Regions from separate parts of the Homo sapiens genome. Here region 2 is linked to region 1. Evidence: promoter capture Hi-C in 16 types of primary human blood cells and fetal thymus (Javierre and others, 2016). All regions are on one chromosome and are shown on one strand. The core of a region is centred on a gene start or on the middle of the fragment in contact, and the rest is flanking DNA. Distances in the headings are between cores, read along the strand shown.

Evidence for each region. Contacts are between HindIII fragments. The CHiCAGO score rates a contact against its expected background, and 5 or more counts as called.
Region 2: a fragment that was not itself captured here is called in contact with the fragment with the promoter of CITED2 in region 1 in 1 of 17 cell types (naive B cells); the score reaches 6.3 in naive B cells.

What each region holds. Positions count from the first base shown.
Region 1 is chr6:139,373,130-139,376,461 of GRCh38, reverse strand. CITED2 (Cbp/p300 interacting transactivator with Glu/Asp rich carboxy-terminal domain 2) reads left to right here and starts at 1,814. Exons shown (of 2, transcript NM_006079.5): 1 at 1,814-2,049; 2 at 2,510-3,332. The coding sequence starts at 2,518. The coding sequence ends at 3,330. RefSeq lists silencers at 966-1,275, 1,446-1,825, 2,286-2,435, 3,006-3,105 and enhancers at 1,976-2,145, 2,656-2,715. The HindIII fragment of the contact is 2,760 bases long and covers 1,340-3,332 here.
Region 2 is chr6:141,485,690-141,489,021 of GRCh38, reverse strand. It overlaps the pseudogene RN7SKP106. Among named protein-coding and RNA genes, the nearest start is that of GJE1, 650 kb to the left of the region's middle. RefSeq lists a silencer at 223-423. The HindIII fragment of the contact is 2,596 bases long and covers 571-3,166 here.

The DNA of each region.
Region 1 (3,332 bases), core at 565-3,064:
TATCTCTAAAAAGTAAATATTTTTGAGGTTTAAAAATTATTTGCCTGCACGGTTTGCCGGAGAGCCTGGAAGAGGAAAGAAGACAAGACACAAAGTAACAACATTTACAAAAATATGCCTGACTAGGAAAAGACAGAGGGGTCATAGACGAAAATAATCAGGATTGGGTCTCTTTTGCAAATTCCTGAACGGGGAAATGTATCAGAATTTCCAGTCCTCAAGAAACAGGGCCTTTAAAAGTCTTGTGTGCAAGAAGGGGGAAAAAGACGAGGGGGGGGCGGGGAGGCGGACTCGCTCTTCGCAGCAGGAAGTCTTCAATGGCTATCGAGTTATGAAGAAACAACTGCCCAGAAGTCCTTATTCGGAGCGCTAAACTCGATTTTACCACATAAAGAGCAATGTAAAAGCTCAGAACAGCCCCATCATGGTGTTGGGGAAACAACTCGGCTTCCCCATGTGAGAAAGCCAGAGAGCTCCGACTTGGTAGTAGCCCAGACCTGTGTTAGGGGTTTTATTTGCAAGTCAATGAACCAAACGGGCGACCAGGCTCGTTGTGCCGCGTTGTGGAAGCAAGGTTATTATTATCGCCCATTGCCCCACTGAACAATTTCACTGAAAAGGAAGAGTCCCAGCCGTGTGTGTGCGCGTGGTGCCATACGGGACGTGCAGCTACGTGCCCACCTCCAGAACGACTTTATTTACAAAGCGATTACCACGTTATCTATTTGTTTTCCTTTTCCAGCAAGAGCAGCCTTACTCAGCCCTCAAATTTCTTAATTACAAACCCGTTTGCTTCTAAATCAACCCCAAACCGTCAGGCAGAGCCCGGAGGGAGGCTCTGCAAGTTTGTACACACCCCCACCTCCCGGATCCAGGGCAACAGCAGAAGCAAGTAACTGTGTATGTGCAAAAAGGTGGATCTGGGGACGAGGATCGCTGAGTTTGTTTACAGAGCAGAGACGCCTCAGCTCGGATGCCAAAGCTACCAAGAGCTGCAAACGCAAACTTAGCAGAAGCACACGTACCCCGGGAGCGGCAGGCGGGCCCGAAAGCGCGGACTGGAATTCCAGGGCGCGGGAGCGGGGGTGGCCGGGCCCTCGAGCGCGCTCCGTCCACCTGCAGCGGCTGCCCCTCCCCGCCCCCAGCTCCTGTCCTTGAAAGGAGTGGAGGAAAAAAATGCATCTACAAGCGGTGATCTAGAGTAGGTCTACCCACTGCCCGTATGAAAACACAAAGGCACAGCCTAGGAAGGCGCGCTCAGGAAAGGGCGCATTATTTGTCCGGGTCTTTAAAACCCAACTCGAGGAAGCACAGCCATTCTTCGCTGCCTGTGGAAGCTTTTGCAAAACCGGGGAGGCACAAGGGCACTCTGGAGGGCGGGGGGCGCTGGGCGAGTCCCCTTTTCCCGTAGAGAGCGGGGCAGATCGCTAGGTGAACCGAGTGAGAAAGCTGGGGGTGGGGTAGATCCAGCCTGAGGGGGGCGGTGAGCTCTCCTCGTGGCTATCCCGGCAGGCTCTACCTTCGGGCGGGGCGGCAGGGGAGGATTTTCCCCCTGCCTCGGGGGTGGCTGAGCCAACCTCGCGTTTCTGGGCCGGGAAGAAACCAGAGTCGGGGGGCGACGGGGCGACTGGGCGGCCCCCGGGCCCCGCAGCCTCTGCAGCACGTGCCGCGGGCGGCGGGGACGCGGCTCCGGGACCCGGTCCAGGGTGTTCGCGGTGTTCCGGAATCCGCGTCTTGGCGCCGCCCGCCCTGGAGGCTCTCGCTCCGCCTTTCCGAAATGCCTATATTAACTGTGGCCAAAGCCCTAAGAAACACAGCTCATTGTTGGCAGCTGCCGGGCGGTCCTGCCGAGCTGTGAGGGCAACGGAGGGGAAATAAAAGGGAACGGCTCCGAATCTGCCCCAGCGGCCGCTGCGAGACCTCGGCGCCGACATCGCGACAGCGAAGCGCTTTGCACGCCAGGAAGGTCCCCTCTATGTGCTGCTGAGCCGGTCCTGGACGCGACGAGCCCGCCCTCGGTCTTCGGAGCAGAAATCGCAAAAACGGAAGGTAAGCGCGACGGGCGAAGCTGGCTGGGGCTCTTGCCAGCCCAGTCCTCCGAGGGCAGGGTTTGCCCGGAGGAAGAGCGTGAGGCGAAGCTGGGGAATAACAACAGGATGTGCAACAACAGGATGAGGAGGGCTGATTTAATGCCTGAAGTTCGCAGCAGGGCTACGGGGCACTTCCTTTATTAGGCCACTTCGGGGAGCAAAGGGGGTGTGGGCTCGGGTCCCCCCGCCCGATCGCAGGGGAAGGGGCTGTTTGTGCAGCGTCCGGCTGTGTTATGAGTGGTAGCTCTTCCGTGGTGGCTAGCCCGGGTGCACAGGCTGTTAGTGGGATCTTGGGGGTGGTGGTTCGCAGCCGACGTGCGCCCGGGAATCCTGGGGGGCAGAGGCGAGCAAAAGTGGGGTGCGCTGTGGTGGGCGACACGTGTGGCGCGGGTCTCATTATCTGCCCTTTTCACTTCCAGGACTGGAAATGGCAGACCATATGATGGCCATGAACCACGGGCGCTTCCCCGACGGCACCAATGGGCTGCACCATCACCCTGCCCACCGCATGGGCATGGGGCAGTTCCCGAGCCCCCATCACCACCAGCAGCAGCAGCCCCAGCACGCCTTCAACGCCCTAATGGGCGAGCACATACACTACGGCGCGGGCAACATGAATGCCACGAGCGGCATCAGGCATGCGATGGGGCCGGGGACTGTGAACGGAGGGCACCCCCCGAGCGCGCTGGCCCCCGCGGCCAGGTTTAACAACTCCCAGTTCATGGGTCCCCCGGTGGCCAGCCAGGGAGGCTCCCTGCCGGCCAGCATGCAGCTGCAGAAGCTCAACAACCAGTATTTCAACCATCACCCCTACCCCCACAACCACTACATGCCGGATTTGCACCCTGCTGCAGGCCACCAGATGAACGGGACAAACCAGCACTTCCGAGATTGCAACCCCAAGCACAGCGGCGGCAGCAGCACCCCCGGCGGCTCGGGCGGCAGCAGCACCCCCGGCGGCTCTGGCAGCAGCTCGGGCGGCGGCGCGGGCAGCAGCAACAGCGGCGGCGGCAGCGGCAGCGGCAACATGCCCGCCTCCGTGGCCCACGTCCCCGCTGCAATGCTGCCGCCCAATGTCATAGACACTGATTTCATCGACGAGGAAGTTCTTATGTCCTTGGTGATAGAAATGGGTTTGGACCGCATCAAGGAGCTGCCCGAACTCTGGCTGGGGCAAAACGAGTTTGATTTTATGACGGACTTCGTGTGCAAACAGCAGCCCAGCAGAGTGAGCTGTTGACT
Region 2 (3,332 bases), core at 619-3,118, 2.1 Mb before region 1:
ATATACACACACAAACACACACACACATATATATATAACCATTATATATATACTGATAAAAATTTTACACCACTGGAACATTTCATTATTTTGGCAGGATTGTCTTTGGGCAGCACAACCTTGAGGAGCAATGTAGCAATATCTTATAAGGTTGAAGAAACAGCCATAGACAGCTCAGTAATGAAATCATTACTGAATGTGTACACTAGAGAAACTCTTACATATGTGCAAATTTAGTAAATGCTCCCTGTCCCTTTGGCCTGATGAGTTCACCTACTGCTCCTTTAAACAGCTACTGACCTGCTGCTAGACTGTAACTTCCTGTTTCTGCATCACCCTTCTCCACTTAAGCCGTTTCTCTGAAAACAAATGAGATAGAAATGCTGGACACAGGAACACTCAGTATGTGCCTGTGTTAACACTACTTAAGGGAAATCCTCAACAATTGGGGCTAAAAGGCAATGGCTAAATCCTGTAGCTTCCTTGTACTGGGGTAGAACTAACCCAAGGTATGTTCCTTACAATCCCCAGTGGGATTGTGACTCAGTTGTTAACTGTGGTACTCAAGCTTGTTAAGACGTAACTTTATTGCCCCTTTTCTCTTACCTATTTCCCTTTCTTTCTTTTCTCATTTTTGGTGCCTGGGATCAACTTCAAAATAAAGTGTCTGTGTCCAAATCCTTGACTCCATTGGATTTGGTGGGGGAAGGATTAAGACTAAACAGAATATGAGAATGTCCATTCCAGCATGATTTGTAATAGTAAACAATCAGCAAAATTGAGGCTTTTAAATTTTATTGTGTTTTATAGTAGCTTAGCAAAATAAATCAATAATTTATTTTTATATCTAGAACAACCGAGAATTTACATTCAGAGATATTAAATTTATAATATCTTCATAAATTGGAATTGGAATTAATTTATAATATTTTCTTATGTGAAGTCAATACTACTGACTATCAAGACTTCTTATATGAAGTCAATACTATTATCACTTTTTGGTGTAAGTGTGGAACATACATTCAAATGACTACCAAGTAATGGGATTATATGCATGCTTAGAAATAAATACAGATATCAAGTTCTGAATAAGTGGTCATGGTAATATTTATTCCCAGATAATTGCAACAAACCATGTAGAAATTATATATTTCTTAGATGAATCAACAATTCAATTGTATTATACTGTGTATTAGTCTGTTCAGGCTGTCAGAACAAAATACAATAGACTTGATGGCCTAAACACAGAAATGTATTTTCTCATAATTCTGAAACTGGAAGTCCAAAAGCAAGGAGCCAGCAGGGTTGGTGTGTGGCGAGGGTTTGCCCCTTGGGTTGCAGATGATTGGATGCCTCCTTGCTACATTTGCTACATGCTGTCTTGATCTTTTCTTTGTGTCCTCCTGGAGAGACAGCTAGAGAGAGAGAGAAAGAGAGAGAGTGAGAGAGAGGAGAAAGTTATTTTTCTCTCTGGTGTTTCTTCTTATAAAGACATTATTTCTATTGGATTAGTGTCCCAATTTAATGATCTTATTTAACCTTAATTATATCTGTAGAGGCTTCTTCCCCAAATACACAAATACAGTCATATTGGCAGTTAGGCCTTCAATATATGAATCTGGGGGAAGGAATATAAATATTTAGTCTATAATATACTCACATTCTGTACTCAAGACTTTTTATTAAAATAAGTTACAAGGAACTTATCATCCACTGATTACTAAGAGGCGTTGGGAACCATATGCAAATAATTTTTAATCTTGATCCTTCTAACACTTTATTACAAACTATTCATATCTAGAATTTAAGATTTGGATGAAACTTTTCAGATTATCTACTATAAGCACAACGTACAAGGATATTTCTATGTGTTTCTTGGCAAGGTGCCAGGATCATACTCTATTTCTGGGCGGAGGGAACAGTGCATTGTATTTACCTAAATATTTAGAGAGTCTTCTTAATATTGACTTATAATATTTTTTCTTATAATGTCTATACATTTGACATAAATATGCCATCTGGAAAATGCTGACCATATGTGTTCTCTGATTCCAAGTATCACTGTATTTATTTTCATGGTAACCTAGCTTCAGAACAACTCAAGTGCTCAAACCAAACACTGTAATATGGATACTGCCTGTCAACTAACAGATACTTTTTCTATGATTTCCTCATAAAAAGTATTTGCACAGGCTGGGTGTGGTGGCTCAGCTGTAATCCCAGCACTTTGGGAGGCTGAGGTGGGCGGATCATGAGGTCAGGAGTTCGAGAACAGCCTGGCCAACGTGGTGAAACCCCGTCTCTACTAAAAATACAAAAATTAGCTGAGCGTGGTAGTGAGCTTCTGTAATCCCAGCTACTCAGGAAGCTGAGGCAGGAGAATCATTTGAACCCAGGAGGCAGAGGTTGCAGTGAGCCGAGATCACGCCACTGCACTCCAGCCTGGGCGAGAGAGCCAGACTCTGTCTCAAAAAAAAAAAAAAAAAAAAAAGGATTAGCACGATACAGAACCCTTTTCTCATAATGCCATTTCAAAATTAAAGTTATTTGTTTTGTTGTTGTTGTAGTTGTTTTGGTAAAAGGAAGAAGAAGAAGAAGAGAAAAATTATGGATATGAGGGCAATCTAAGAGCAACATCTATCAACCATTTGATTGCCAGGGTTGGTGCAGCAGATCTGGTTGACTAGACAGGTGTTCCCTTCCTTCCTCACCACTCCATATGCGTTCCTTCCAAAGCTGTGTGCTCGGTAAAAGAGGATGACCATCCGCGATGGAGAAGGACCCATCTTCAGTCAAGGGCACGTGAGTAGATGGGCTTCCCTGCTAGAACTTCCAAACAAGCTCTCAAGAAGAGAAAAATCAATCACATGATATTATTCTTCACCTCTCTTGTTTATTATTTATTGATTTATTTTGTTGCTATTGTTGAATAGTTCATATAGAGTAAGTCTGGAGAAAAATAAATTAAACGGTAAGGACAATTCAGTGATTATCCAATTGAACAGCTGTATGTGAAATAACATCATTATTGGTATTACTTTATTACTTTTAGGGTTTGAATTCTTGTGTTCAAGTGTAGTTCTTTCAGATATTGTTGCTGTATTATCATCTCTAAATTTGTAAGTTGTTTCTTATTTCACAGGGACATAAAGACTGGAAACAAGCTTCATTGCCATTGGGGTTCAGTTGTATCTAAGTGATAAGAGAAAATTTCTTGGTGTTGTAGAAGAGCAGAAGCCATTGTTCTCATGCCATGGCTGAGGATAAATGTGTGGGCTTTGACAAATGGCAGACATGGGTTTTTGCCCATTGATTTTGGAGATCTTCCTGAG